Regions from separate parts of the Homo sapiens genome. Here region 2 is linked to region 1. Evidence: promoter capture Hi-C in 16 types of primary human blood cells and fetal thymus (Javierre and others, 2016). All regions are on one chromosome and are shown on one strand. The core of a region is centred on a gene start or on the middle of the fragment in contact, and the rest is flanking DNA. Distances in the headings are between cores, read along the strand shown. Region 1 holds the start of TMEM164 (transmembrane protein 164). Region 2 has its middle 15 kb from the start of NXT2.

The links. Contacts are between HindIII fragments. The CHiCAGO score rates a contact against its expected background, and 5 or more counts as called.
Region 2: a contact is called between a fragment that was not itself captured here and the fragment with the promoter of TMEM164 in region 1, in 1 of 17 cell types (neutrophils). The highest score is 6.7, in neutrophils.

Annotation. Positions count from the first base shown.
Region 1 is chrX:109,998,175-110,006,064 of GRCh38, reverse strand. TMEM164 (transmembrane protein 164) reads right to left here and starts at 2,951. Exons shown (of 7, transcript NM_032227.4): 1 at 2,887-2,951; 2 at 1,901-2,564. The coding sequence starts at 2,290. RefSeq lists an enhancer at 2,089-2,744 and a silencer at 2,847-3,706. The HindIII fragment of the contact is 10,429 bases long and covers 1-6,001 here.
Region 2 is chrX:109,548,101-109,555,990 of GRCh38, reverse strand. No RefSeq gene overlaps it. Among named protein-coding and RNA genes, the nearest start is that of NXT2, 15 kb to the right of the region's middle. The HindIII fragment of the contact is 7,389 bases long and covers 819-7,890 here.

The DNA of each region.
Region 1 (7,890 bases), core at 1,702-4,201:
TTTCTCCAAAGTCATACAATGAATTAATGCTAGCACTAGGTCTCCAGAGTCTTCTGAGAGCCTCTAAAAATCTTGCTTCTAAAAACCATGGTGTTGCCAGTCTTGACGTCATCACATCAGCCGCAGCTCCAGTCAGGCTGAATTTAGTCCTTTGTCGACCTTCTAGATATGTGATTGCCAGAGGCCTCAAGACCACTTTGTAGAAGATGCACCCTTTGACCCTCACCACCTGCCATCCTAAAAAAGCACTCCTGTCCCGACAGCCTCACACAGCATCGGCTGAGATGCGTTGTTTCCTATCATTAACAAAAAGCCCATTCATAAAAAAAGAAAGAAAGAAGACTGGCTCAAATTTACACAGAAGGTCTAGCTGGGACAGCCCTGGACTTCCTGTGAATGGCATCACTTCCCAAGAAGCCCTCTCTTAAAAAATGCTGCCCACTCCAGCCCCGATGCTTACAGCCACCCAATCAAAAACAGCCACTTTATTCCAAAGTTATCCATACCTTCTTACCATATCTGCAAGAAGGGAAGGGGCTGGGGTCATTCACCACATCCAGAAGCCTGCAATCAAATGAGTTCCTAGGAACACAGTGCAAGCAAGTATCCAAGCCATGGGTAGACAGTGTGGTGCTCATCTGCCTGAGTCTTCCCACAGGACTGCCCCACCACCCACTGCCACCCTCACTTTGGGGTTGACAGCTTGCAACCTCAAGGTGGATGAGTTTGCTTTCTAACCCAGGCACTAATTCATCTTCTGGCTGCAAGCAAATGACCTGCCATTCCTAAACCCCTCCAGGCCTGTAAAATGGAGATAATAATCTCAACCTCCTGCCCCAAGCTAGGCTGTCACAAGTCTCCAAAGAATAACCTTCTACAAACATAAAGGCAGTAAAGATGCTAATGACAGGTTTCAAAACTGCCCCTGAATAAAACACACCCGGTTTTCCACAGCCTGAAATCTAAAAAAGACTGATTGCTCTCCCAGTCTCCTCTTCCTCCTCCTCCATGATTTTATAGCTTTAGAACATCTCTCCACACAGGCTGAATACAGACAGTCTCACTCTTGGTCCTCACCCAGATTATTTTTATGTATCTGGCAACTTGCCTTTTCAATCCCATTTGTTTTCCTTAGCACCGCTAATGGGTGGAAGTCGATGAGGTAAAGAAATCAGCTTCCTAAGCACCCTTGGACTATGACCATAGGAGACAGAATGACAGTAATAGGATGGAGAGGTTTGCAAAAAAAGAAATACCCTCTCACCATAGTGATCACCAGCCCAAAGTACACATGTCAGCCTGGGGACCTGCTTCAGAACTCATTTAGTAGGAGCTTGGTGCTGCTCCAATGCCTCAAAATGCAAAGGCAGACCTCACTCTAAGAGCATACACTCCCAAATGAAAGAGTCATTAAGAGAAACCTGTAAAAGTATTTCCCCAAAGTACCACAGTGTAGATGAGAAAGTTTATGCGACCACCTCCAGGAAAGAGTGTCACCAGGCCCCTGGGAAATTAACTACCACAGAAGGCAAGGGAGCTGGGTCATGGTCCACTGATGTGATTCAGAAAGGGCACCTGGCTGGGGCTGGAATTCCTGCTTGTGAAAGCCCAGGGCACGGCAGGGTTGGGCTGGGCTGGAAGGGAGGGGCAGCCAGGGTGAGTGCCAGTCGTTCCTAGGGTTCAGGCACAAGGTTCCTCACCTCCACTGTGGGGCTGACGCACTGTGCAAAGGTGAAAGAAAGCCAAACCTGAAATCGGCACAAAGGCAGCCACTCGTTGGAAAATCATTTTTAAAGGTCCCCCTGCCCGCCGGGATGAGGTGCTGTACACTATGGAGTGTCCTGAGCACATAAATGACTCTTATCACTTAGGATGCCCAGGAAAAAGTCAACAGACTCACATGCATCATGGTGACCAGGTGACAGGGGTTGAGCAGGTAGATGACGGTCTTGGTGGCGAACTTAAAGCCCACCTCCACCCCGAAGGTCAGGCACAGGGCTACTAAGAGCAGATTCTTGCTCAGGCTCTCCTTGCCTTCCTCTGGCCGCTGGGTCACCTGCTCTGGCTGGCTGCCAGGGCTACCCCTACCGTCCTCCTTCGTCTGCCTCAGGATGTGCCGCAGGGCCACCAGGATCTCCAACAGAGCCAGGGTCAGGACCACCACACTTTCCAGCAGCCGCTGCTGCCAAGAGAGGAAGGCAGCACAGTCGGGGCCCCCATTGCCTGCAAAACTGGGGTCCACGCCCCCATAGAGCCAGTCCAGGAGACTCTGGTAGCTATACCGGGACATGATGCAGTGGTTCCCCTTGACCACAGTACAGGAAGCAAGAGTGAGATGGAACACAAGCCCAGAGGGTTGCCCGGGTGGTGGACCATGTAAGGCGGGCACACCCCCACAACCCCCCTCCAGACACCAGGGCACCGAGAGTAGGGGAGGGGAAGCTACACGCAAGGCCCGGGGTAAAGTGCTGGCTCTAACTTGTCCCCACGGCTGTCTGGGGGAGCCCCCCGCGCTTCTCCAGTGGCCACCAACGAGGCAGGGTTGAAAGGAGCCGTTGGCCAATCTAAAAGGAAGGAGAGGAAAAAAAAAAAAAAGAGGTCTCAAAGAGGCAATTGCACCGGGAATTAGGAAGCGGGAGGGGTAACTAGCGAGGGAAGAAAACGGGAACGGGGCAGTGGCGAAGCAAGCAGGGGTCAGGGGAAGCCGGAGGCCGAAAGGGTCAGGGCGGGGGCCAAGGAGACCCGGCAGTGCTGCGGCAGCGAACCGGGAGCCAAAAGGGGTCAGAGCTAGGGGACACGCGGAGGCAAGGAGAGGAGCTAGCGGGGCCGAGCAGGCGGGGAGGGCGACGGGGATGGCAGGGACGCCGGACTCCTCGTCTCACGCACTCGCCACAGAGGGATCTCTTACTCCTGCAACCGCGTGGCCGTCTCTGCCCCCAGCTAGCAACTTCGCCGCCGACGGGCCCCTCCAGCCAATTTAGAGCCGTCCTTGTCCAGCCTCCCGCCCCCGGGTACACCCCCGAACCCCCAGCTCCACCCTCCGGCCCTAGACGCCCGCCCTCCGGGCAGCACCACCCCCAGCCCGCGGCCCGCCCGGGACCTGCCCCCCTCGCGCAGGCAGCGGAGGGAGGAAGCCAGAGGGAAGGCGGGAGGCCGGGCCAGCCGGGGGCTGGACTAAAGCCGGCCCCTGGACTAAAGCCGGCCCCCCTCCCTCCTCCCCGGCGCCGCAACCTCCCGCGCCTCCCGCCCAGCCCCGGGGACCGGCCGCCGCGCCCCTCGGGGCTTCACTCACCGGCAGCTCGGCCCGCGGCCCCGGATCGGGCTACTGCTCCGCTCCCGCGCTCTCCGCGCCGGGCGCTCGGTTCCCCTGGCGGCCGCCGCCGCGGCGCACGGCTCCTCCTCCCCGTCTTCCTCCCCCTGCAGCAGCCGCGCTCGCTTCCTCCTTCTTCCCCTCCCTCTCTCCTCCCCCTCCCCGCTGCCACCGCCACTGCCTCCCTCCTCCCGTCCAGTTCAGCTCTCGCCCCACCACACGCCCTCGGGCCACGACTACTCCTCCTCGCCTCCTTCCCTTTTCTGCCTCTGGCACTCCCCTCACCCGTCCACCATTCACACCTCCCACCCTCCGCGGCTTCGGCTCTCCCTCCTCCTCCTCCCTCCTCCTCCCTCCTCCGGCTCAGGCTCCGCCTCCTTCCGCCTCCTCCCTGGCCTGCCTCGTCTTCTGCACTCGGAGCCTGCACGCGTGCACAGCCACCCTCCTTCACAACCGTGTACAGAATTCGCCCCCTCGGTGAAGCCCTGTTGACTGGCTCCGCCTCCCGCGACCTGGTTCTCCAGGGCACTTCTTTCTATACTGCACACATAGTAGGCACTTAGCTGGCCCGCACTAACTTCTTGTGGGGGAATAAGCCTTTCTAGTAATGAGCAGCTTGGCTTCGGGGTGTGTGCTGGGTATGGCCGGCTCCTCTTCGCGATTCCTCCTTTCTGCCACGACTCATGCAAGGCCAGAAAGGCATCTTCTCTCCCCTTTCTAGCCACAGCCCCACTCCACACTTCAGTGCCTAGGACAGGAGCTTCATTTCCCTGCTCCTCCCCCTCCTGCTCTGATCCACTATTTTCTCTCTACCTCTTGCCACACAGACCACCCCTGCCACACCCTCTCCCTCTCCCACTTCTCTCCTTTCTCCTGACAGGCCTTCAATGGTAGGCCAGTGGGAGGAAGGGAGGCTTCCCGTGACCTCTTTCCCTCCCCCTCTTCCCCCCTTCCCCCTCCCCAGAGCAGTTGCTTCCTAACCTATGCGTGGAAAAGCCAGCCAGGACTATATGAGTGTGGAGGAGCAGCACTAAGCCCAAAACCTGGATAAGGGCAACTGACGGAAATAAAATCCCCTCTTCCTACCTGCTGCTTTTTACCGATCGGCTATTTGCTTTTCTTGAGACAAGGGTCAGTAAAAGGACCTTCTCAGGACCTTCCTCATGTTTATTTAATATTTATTGAAGACTCACGATGAGTTAGAAGAATATCCAGAAAAACACAGTTAGGCACCTTGCCTAGGAAACACTTTTGGATGTTGGCTGCAAGCCAGGCTCAAAACATAAAATGCAATCTACTGTATTATCAGGCCATCGCCCTCCCGTTTTTTCCAAGTCTGGTTTTCCGAACAAGTACAGCCAGGTAGCCTTGTCTGACTCCAAGTTTTGTACAACATCTACCATAGGCCTGATGTTCTCCAAGTGTCAGAGGCGTTAGAACCAGAGCGACTCCATCTTGAACAGGGCCTGGATAAAATGACGCTGAGACCTACTGAGCTGCATTCCCAAAAAGTTAGGCATTCCAAGTCACGGGATGAGATAGGAGGTCGGCACAAGATTATAGGTCACAAAGACCTTGCTGATAAAACAGGATGCAGTAAAGAAGCCGGCCAAACCCCACTAAAACCAAAAAGGTGATGACAGTTACCTCTGGTCGTCCCCACTGCTCATTATATGCAAATTATAACGCATTAGCATGCTAAAAGTCACTCCCACCAGCGTCCAGAAGTTACCCTATATGGTCTGAAAGGGGGAGGAACCCTCAGTTCTGAGAATTGCCCACCCCTTTCCCAGAAAACTCATGAATAATCCACCCCTTGTTTAGCATATAATCAAGAAATAACCATAAGAATTATCAGTTGAGCAGCCCAAGCTGCTACTCTGCCTATGGAGTAGCCATTCTTTATTCCTTTACTTTCTTAATAGACTTGCTTTGACTTTACTCCAAATTCTTTCTTGCCCCGAATTCTTGCTAGAGGTCCAAGAACCCTCTCTTGGGGTCTGCATCCAGACCACTTTCCAGTAATACAAGTGCCAATTAATAAACAACAACAAACAAGGCTTGATTCAGAGGCTCACTAGTTCATTCTCCTTAAGTGTTTTGTTAAATCCTCAGCAACATAACCAAGGAACATTAAGGACAAAGCTGGGGAGCACCTAGCAATGGAATACAGCATCCCAAAACCTCAAGTTGCTATCTTCAAGGAAGCAAGAATTAGGATATAGCACTTAGCCAATGGCTTCAGTAATCCCTCCAATTTCCATGCTGAGCTTCTGTTGAGAATTTGGCCTAGACTGTCCCGAGTTTGCAACAATGACTATGGTTAATAATGACTGTAGCCAGGCCAGTTTTCTAAATTGAGCCATAAATTCCTTTTTCACAGGCATGTTGAAGAAAAAAGCCAAACTCTGTAAAATATTTGAGATTTATTCTGCACCAAATGTGAGGACCATGACATGTGACACAGCCTCAGAAGGTCCTGAGATCCTGTGCCCGAGGTGGTCGGATTACAGCTTGGTTTTATACATTTTAGAGAGACAGGAGTTACAGGCAAAGATATAAATCAATACATGTAAGGTATACATTGGTCTCAGCCTGGAAAGGCGGGACATCTCAGGTGGTTGGGGGAAGCTCACAGTCATAGGTGGATTCAAAGACTTCTGACTAGCAACTGGTCGAAAAAGTTAAGCTTTATTTAAAGTAAAGAGTTGAAGTCAGCAGAAAGAAATGCTTAAGATAACGGGTATTGTGGAAGCCAAGATTCTTGCTATGTAGATGAAGCCTACAGGTAGCAACCTTCAGAGAGAATAGATGTAAAATCTCTTATTGGACCTTAAAACGTGTCCGACTCTTAGTTAAATCTCTCCTGGATCATGAAAGGACCTGGAAAGGGAAGGAGATTCTCTATAGAATGTAGATTTTCTCCACAAGAGATAGCTTTGCAAGGCCATTTCAACATATGTCAAAGAAATGTATTTTGGGGTAAAATACTTTGATTTCCTTCAGGGCCTGCTTTCTGTCATGTGGTGCTATACCAGGGTCAGGTTAGAATTTGGTATTTTATTGTCACGAAGAGTCTGTTTTGTCAGTCTTATGATCTCTATTTTAATGTGAATGCTGATCAATTGTGCATAAACTCCAAAGAGAGGGGGTATAATGAAGAATGTCCTTGAGGTTTTTTGAACATGGGAAATTTTGTGATGGTTTCTGTCAAGGTTTCTAATGATTTTTTATTGTGGTAAAATATAAAATTTGTTGTTTTAACTATTTTTTTCTTTTCTTTTTTTTGAAATGGAGTCTCGCTCTATTGCTCAGGCTGAAGTGCAGTGGTGCCATCTTGGCTCACTGCAACCTCTGCCTCCTGGGTACAAGCAATTCTCCTGTCTCAGCCTCCCAAGTAGCTGGGATTACAGGCATGCACCATGTCCAGCTAGTTTTTGAATTTTCAGTAGAAACAGTGTTTCACCATGTTGGCCAGGCTGATCTCCAACTCCTGGCCTGAAGTGATCCACCCACCTCGTCCTCCCAAAGTGCTGGGATTACAAGCGTGAACCACTGCGCCTAGTTGTTTTAACGATTTTTAATTGTACAATTTAATGACTTTAATCACATTCACAATGTGCAACCATCACTACTCTATTTCTGAAAGTTTTCATCACCCCAAATAGAATTCCTATACCCATTAAGCAAAAAAAAAAAAAAAAAAAAAAGTCCAACCTCCATGAGACAGAGTCTCACTCTATCCCCTAGACAGGAGTGCAGTGGTGCAATCTCGGCTTACTGCAACCTCCGCCTCCGAGGTTCAAGTGATTCTCCTGCCTCAGCCTCCCGAGTAGGTGGGACTACTGGCATGTGCCACCATGCCTTGCTAATTTTTGTATTTTTAGTAGAGACTGGGTTCCACCATTTTGGCCAGGCTGGTCTTGAACTCCTGACCTCAGGTAATCTGCCCTCCTCAGCCTCCCAAACTGCTGGGATTATAGGCATGAGCCACCGCATCTGGCCAGCCTGAGCTAGTTTTTCAAGTTTTCTTTCCAGGTCCTCTTAGCCAAGGTAGGGGGTGTGTGTTGGGGGGTGTGTCTGTTCAGTCATTTAGGGGGCTTAAAATTTTATTCTGGGTTTACAAGTAGAATAACAAAGTGTTTTTAGGATATGGATTCGAATCTAACCCCATTTATATTATTTACTTGCTGTGTCACCTTGGACAATTTACTCTCAACCTCCCTGTGCCTCAATTGCCTCATCTATTAATTGAAAGATACTATTATCAAATTGATGAGGTTATGCACAGTCAAATGAGCTGAATGTTGGGGACCATAAGGTGGTGTCTGGTGCATAGAGAGTGTTCACTAAGTGCTCCCTATTATTACCCATCCCTGCATTTGCATGTGTACACACACCCAAGCACGTGCACGCACACACAACCTCAAATTCAGCGCCCTCCCCCACATTTGCATAAACAATCCTACCATCCTTCAAAGCCCACGTAAAATTTCACTCCCCCCAATCCCCCTCCCTCAGCTCCTGGAGCTCTCTTCCTCCTCTGAACTTGTACAGCATTTATTGCCTGCACTACTCAT
Region 2 (7,890 bases), core at 3,264-5,763, 450 kb after region 1:
ATATGCCTGAAGTGCCAATGTTACCAGACAGGGGGTCCAGATCCAGACCCCAAAAGAGGGTTCTTGGATCTCACGCAATAAAGAATTCAAGAAGAGCCCATAGAGTGAAAGCAAGTTTATTAGGAAAGTAAAGGAATAGAAGTATGGCTATTCCATAGGCAGAGCAGCCCTGAGGGCTGCTGATTGCCGATTTTTATGGTTATTTTTAAATTATATGCTAAACAAGGGGTAGATTATTCATGCCTCCCCTTTTTCGACCATATAAGGTAACTTCCTGACATTGCCATGGAATTTGTAAACTATCATGGCGCGAGTGTAGCAGTGAGGAGGACCAGAGTTCATTCTTGTTGCCATCTTGATTTTGGTGGGTTTTGGCTGGCTTCTTTACTGCAAACTGTTTTATCAGTAAGGTCTTTATGACCTGTATCTTGTGCTGACCTCCTATCTCATCCTGTGACTTAGAATGCCTTAACCTCCTGGGAATGCAGCCAAGAAGGTTTCAGCCTCATTTTACCCAGCCCCTACTCATGATGGAGTTGCTCTGATTCAAATGCCTCTGACATATTTCCCCCCTCCCTTTTACAAGCGAACCCTTAATCCTAAGGGTTGTAGAGGGACAAAGATCCATCTTCTGTAACTTCTTCATGCTGAACAGAGGCAATGTTATTCCTACCTAACTACTGGGTCTCTTGTATTCAGGGTAGAAAGGAGCTCAGTCAGAAAGCCTTGGTATGGTGAGGGTCATTCATAATTCTTGAGTTCCAACAAAAGTGATATCTGGAAGATTAATAAGTGCTTAAGAAAATATTGAGTAAGCTTATCCTGCATTCCTACACAAAGAGTATAACAGCATTGTATTGCACAACAGTAAAGCAAAATAAATAAAATTATCCAAGTAAACTAAATTAGAAGGCTTTCCATGAGCGGAGCAACTGTTGGAACCAAGCTGATATGGGATCACTAGCTTATTCCAGTGTGCCCAGAATTAGAATATTGATCTAGATTTTTACATTACCCATCCCTCTTGTTTCTTCTGAGCAGCAGCCAGAGATCACTGGTTGGTTCACAGGAATAAGCAGGTTAGTCTAAATTGCAGGAAAAAAAACCTTAAAAACAACTGATGAGACTAGAATCTAAAAACAGGTGTACCACAGTTGTTGAAACATAATTTTTCTCTCTCCAGTTTCTCATTTTTTACTAAAGACAAATCATGGTATGACTGATTTGCTTTATTATACTTGGCCTGATTATTTGTATAAAGTGCAGCAAGAATAATTATTTTTCACATAGGCTTTTAAAATTGGCTTTGATGGAACTCTGTTCCATAGAAGGAATCTCAAATCAGACTTTTTTTTTAAGCTGAGCCCAGCCATGGGGTTGTACTGTCAAATACCTGTGACTTGGGTAAATTTCTCTCCTCTTGAGGTCCCAAGATAACTTGGGGCTCCTGGGCCTGTCAGAAAGTGACATTCTTACCACAGGTTAGGAACTTACCACAGGTCAGGAACCCTGCACAGGGACTGTGTAGACAAGGTATGAGGCCAGTTTTCCCAAGGGGCCCTGATTGGCTCTATAAGTCAAGTGTGATTCCTTAATGGAAAGCACATCATTCAAGTCAAAGCCTTCCTAAAATAACCAGTATCTCCAATTGTGTCTTGTTGTAAATGAAAACAGATGCTTATTGCACTTATGCAAATAAGTATATTGCCATAAGTTAAGAATACCCACAACTTAGTTTCCAAATTCTGGAGAAATTAGATAGAGCAAAACAAATATCCTCCAAATTTTGTTCACAGGAGTATATTTTACTCAATTGTTGAAAGCTGTTAATAGCTCAAAAGAAAAATTTCCTTGACTGTGAAAAACAAAACAAAGGATCAGCAACGTTTTAAGCAAAAAGTTAAAAAGATTACTTCAGTCTTCTATTAGTTCAGTCCATGCAGTTAAGTCCTGTTTTGCTTGATATCCATTAACATTTCAGCTCTCCATAAGAGTCCTGAAAGTTTTTTCTGCTATTCTAATGTCACAATCTCCAAAGTTATTAGAAACCTTCATTTAAGACCACCTGTTAGAGTTCTATAGTTGATTATAAAACCACCTTCTACAGAGGACCAAAACAAGACAGTAGTCTGTAGATGACAAAAAGTCTTATTAGTTAGGACAGCCACGATTAAAACCACAATTGACAAGGAAATTTTGGTTATTTCTGTGGCATACAACTATTTTACATAACAATGATGATTATTAATAACATACACTAAGTCATATTAGAATTATAGGAGTTTCTCATAATTTTGGAACACATACCAATAACATATTTACACAAATACAGCCCAAAGAAAGCCAAACATCATTTTATATTTGACAATGCTTCCTGCAGGATTTTTATACCAAATAAGACAAATTTCACTGTTGCACTAGTGTACTATTAATGTCAACCCCAATTCTTAATAAAACCTTGTAGACAAATTTATTCCATCTTAATCAGTTTGAACATAAGATTCCTACAAACTTTTTTTCCTCACCTCCTCAGCAAAGTGGATCATAAACCTTTTATAACCCTTTACAATTTTTGTGAAAGAGCAGTTCAGTGCTCTAAGAAAAACCTGTTGTGCTCTTATTCCAATGTTCAATTTACGGAAAAATTGAATACCTTTTTAAATTTTAGGAAATATGTTCACACACAGAATTTTTTTTACAATTAATTTTTTGCAAATCTTCCACAACTTGCTCAAACTTGCAGTTTTATCCCAACTTAAAACAATCCTTTAGCCCTCTAAACTTAGGCAAGAAATCCACATTCCTATGACTTCTTATAATCTTTTACCAAAAACACATTTCACTTTCCTTACACACCTTGCATGTAAAACTGTTTTTATTGCCCAAAGATTACTTAGGTCACATGAACTAAAAGGCATTACAGTTTTTACTTTTCTGATAAAATAAGAACTTATTATTTTTAAGCCAATTAATTAAAGCTCTTTCATATATAAATATCACAGACATAACACATATAAATACACAGACAGAAGAAGATCCAGTACTTGTAAGATTTTTCTTTTGCCAGTTTCTTAAATGGATTACTGGCTTAGGATGGAGCCCTTGGAGGAACAGGGCCAGGAAACAGGAAAGCATGCAGTTTTTAGGGCATAATAAGCAGGCACAGCTGGAAGGCAAAACAGATCCCCTCAAATTAAGGGTCCCATTTTTATACCAGATCCTGGATCCCCAAAAAGGGGGAATCAGCCCATCTCCCAAAACTATACTTCCTACCTAGTTATTACACACTAAAAGTCTCTCATAATGCAAAGTAATTTCTGATACCCCCAAAAGTTAAAAATGTCAGATAATGCAATGCAAAACAGAACAAAGCCTTAGATTTTGAGAGGGATCTATCCACTTTTAATTCCTGGGGTTTCATGAGGAAGACAGAGGTTTTTCCCCAAGCAGGGTCTGTGGTGCCTCCTCTGCTTTTCCTGAGTCCCCACCTATTAGAGCTAGAATATCTGCTTTTAATTAAGCTGACTTTTAACCACAGCACTCTAAAAAAAAGAGTCCTTTTAAAATTTAAAATTTTAAAATTAAAATGTATTACCCAACTTTTAGCCAAGCCAATCGGCCGATATTTTTGGCTTTTGAACTTTACCAAAAGTAACCTAATAGTTGCACTGAGAAAGTAAAACTCAAGACAGTTAGTGGAGGGAAAGAGAACCAACAAATGGCAAAGGTCACACAGATATTAAACCAGAAAGTACTCATTCCCTAAGCTGGGAATTGAACCCAGGCTGCTATTGTGATGGCAGAGACCAAGAGAAAGTACTGCCATGTGGTTACAAGGTTAATCTGCCAAGGACATTTTTCAACATGTGGTCTCTGGGCAAGATGGTCGCCCTGAGTAATAGAAAAGACAGGAAAGAGAAAGAGAGAGAGAGAAGCATTGCTTGCGGCAGGGTGGGGAAGGCGAGCATCTCACAGAGGCCCAAGAAAGATCCACCCATCCCAGCGTGATTGAAAAGTTCAGGCAGCTGCTTGTCGGTTGCAAAGGGATCTTTTCCAGCAGTCCCATTAGCTCTCAAGTTTCCCCTTTTAGGGAGAAAAAAGCTCCCCATGTCCCATGGTCCCATACATGCCTCATCCTGTCACCCACAGCCATCAGCAGACTGCAAGGTAGATTAATTCAAAGAGAATAGCCGTTAACATCCCATAGTGCCAAACCTGTTCGTAGCTGAGAGTACCTTTACTGAGAGGGTCCTCTAACCTCCTAAATCTTAGGAAGGACTCTAACCTTCCTCAATTGGGCCTCCAACCCAAGTTTGGTCAAGCGTTGTTGCCTTTTATTGAGAGGGCCCTTTAACCCTCTCTGTCTTAGGAGAGACTCTAACTCCCCTAAGTTGGGCCTCTAACCCAATCCCATCCTTTACCCAGGTATATGCACCTCACTTACCCAAAGTCGGCCAATTGGTGTGCACAGATGATTTTCCTTTTGGTCACGAGTTTCTTCAGTATCATCCCTTGGGGTTCACCAGAAAAATGTTACCAGAAAGGGCTCCCGATCCAGACCCCAAGAGAGGGTTCTTGCATCTTGAGCAAGAAAGATTTTGAGGGGAGTCCACAGAGTAAAGTGAAAGCATGTTTATTAAGAAAGTAAAGAAATAAAAAGAATGGCTACTGCATAGGCAGAGCAGCCCCAAGGGCTGCTGGTTGCCTATTTTTATGTTTAAAAAAATTATATGCTAAACAAGGAGTGGATTATTCATGCTTTCCCTTTTTAGACTATATAGGGTAACTTCCTGACGTTGCCATGGCATTTGCAAACTGTCATGGTGCTAGTGGGAGTGTAGCAATGAGGATGACCAGAGGTTACTCCTCTTGTCACCATATTGGTTTTGGTGGGTTTTGGCCGCCTTTGTTAGTGCTACCTGTTTTATCAGCAAGGTCTTTATGACCTACATCTTGTGCTGACATCCTATCTCATCCTGTGACTTAGAATGCTTTAATCTCCTGGGAATGCAGCCCAGCAGGTTTCAGCCTCATTTTACCCAGCCACTGCTCAAGATGGAGTTGCTATGGTTCAAACGCTTCTGACACCAAGACTAATGAAATATTCCTTTCAGTTATGGTATTGTTCCAGATACTGCCAGCCAAAATGCAACAACCCCAAGATAAAAGCCTATTGCCTCCAAAGTAATGAGTTAACAGATTTAGCTCGAAAGGAGAGGGTGAGGCCTGAGGGATTTGAAAAGAGGGCAGGCTAGGTCTAGAGTCTACCACAGTGTGGGCCTTAGGAAGCATAGCAATATAGGGCCTGAGAAGGATGGGAGAAAGGGGCATGGAGGTAGGAAGTCTCCTAGTTCCTAGTTTTGCCACTGGCCTTCCAGGGATTTGTGAGTGTATACATATTTTTAGCTGCAGTTCTCATTTTCCTCCCAGTTATTATAAATTACCTGTCTGGGGAGGCTGTTTTTCCTAGTTTCTCTCTCCCGTCTTCCTCTCCTTTTATTTTCAGTTGTTTGGAAAGCAGTATCTTCCCAACTGTCCCTACCTACCATTCTCCCTCACCTTCCCCCAGCTAATTACTCCTTCCATCCCTTCTCCCAGGCTTGTCTTTTCTCCTCAGCAACATCCAAAGCCAGTGAATTATTAGGTCTGAGATTGAGCCCAGACCATTGGGAATCCTGGATGCCACAGATGGACGGATTAGTACCTTAGAAAAATCATTTCCAGAGGCTCTTTCAGAAACAACAAAAAAGAGTCAGGAAAACGGCCGGGCCCGGTGGCTCACACCTGTAATCCCAGCACTTTGGGAGGCCGAGGCGGGCAGATCACGAGGTCAGTAGATCAAGACCATCCTGGCTAACACGGTGAAACGCTGTCTCTACTAAAAATACAAAAAATTAGCCGGGCGCAGTGGCGGGCGCCTGTAGACCCAGCTACTCGGGAGGCTGAGGCAGGAGAATGGTGCGAACCTGGGAGGTGGACCTTGCAGTGAGCTGAGATCAGGCCACTGCACTCCAGCCTGGGTGACAGAGCGAGACCCCTCTCAAAAAAAAAAAAGAGTCAGGAAAACAAAGTGCTTATTGGCTACCTCAGGCAGCTCAGGTTTCCAAGTCAGACCGTGGTACCTGGGCTTGGTTAAGTGTTGCAGGCATCTACTGCCAATTTCTTGCCGTTGAGCAAGAGAATTGGAATGAATAATGTTACAGTCAATTTTGTTTTTCTAGTTACAGAAAGACTACTTGAAAATACATTTGCAAAATTACTATCGTTTCCTTTAGGGCCCTGAATCCTTTTTTTTTTTTTTAACAGTAAAATAACCATCTCTATAAATCTAATCTTAGACTTTTTTTGCGGAGCTGGTTTAACAACTACCTGGTAAAGTCAGGGGCAAGGTTTAGAATGAGTGTCTGGCTGCGGGAAACAGTCACTCTCAATTGATTTTACCCTTAAAGAAAACCAGAATTTTTGGAAGGGAGGAAACCAATCATCAAGCCAAAAACTATAACCATTGTATTTGTGTAGCACGTGGCACTTAAATATTTTCGTTTGTTGCCTTATTTGATTCTCACAACCACTTGGTGGGCCAGATAGGACAAATAGTATTTCCATTCAATAGCTGAAGAGAGAGGCCCAGAGTAAGTGAATTGTGCAAAGTCACAAAACACATTAGGGGCAGAACAGCCTTAGAACACAGGTCTTCTTTGGGTCTGGGACCAGGATTACACCTTAGAGACCACCACAGCCTTTGTCAAACAAGGGGAGTTGATATGTAGATGTTTGGGGTGTTCAAGGAGGGAGGAAAAGGAAAAAAACACATGAAATTTAAAATTTATCAAAATACAGCTTACATAATATCAGATCATGTTCAAAAGTGGTCCTGCTAGAAAGCCTTCTCACTTCTTTCCTTGGACACCTGAAATAGCACAGTTCCTTCCATTTCAACTCCTTTTCATTGCCGCTCATTCTATTCCCAGACTCTGCCTAAAGACTATGTAAACATTTGCTTTCTTAGCTCTGAACTTCTCGTGCAAACCAAAGAACGGGAGGCAAACACTGCTGCCCTTCATGGCCCTCAACAAATATGAAAAACCTGAGAAGAGAAAGAAGTTTTTGGTCACTTCTAAGTCAGGGTGACATCATTGATATATGGCACTACCTATTGGAAGCCAGCCCTATACCCCTACTCAAAAGTGATAGTGAAAATATGCTTGATCTATTTTTGTGTTTTTCAAACTGATGGTACAACCCGTTAGGAAGTTGTAAAAAAATCAGTTGAGCAACTTATGACCAGCATTTAAAAAAAATAATAGAATGAAATAGAAAATGCAAGGACCACACTGCAAGTGGTAAACGTGAGTTTTATTTTGGACATTATACACACACACACACACACACACACACACACACATACACCCACATATATAGGTTTACTTGTGCATCTGTATACCGGGTTGTGATGTAAAATATACTTCTCACTGTGGGTCATAGTGAAAATTTTGAAAGCTCTCTCTCTAAAGAATGCATATACCACAATCCCAGATTTATGTTGTGTCCTAAGACCCCTCCATCTGACACATTATTCCAACAATACATTTTTCTACCTTTTACTGCTTCCCTAGAAAGCTAGACTGACCTACATAGCTGACTGAGAGTCACTGAGAACTCTTTTGTAAAGAAAGCTGCATTTGGCAAAAGGTAAGCATTTATTAATAGAATACAGCAGTTTGGAAAAAAGTGTTTCGATGAAATACTTTTATTATACAGAGCCAACTACAAAATCAAAAAGCCAAAAATGCCTTACCATTTTCCCCTAAATATGTGTGGTTATGTTAAAGCACACATAGGACAGGAAGGACAACACAGGCTTATAACAAAAATCAGTAAATGGAATCC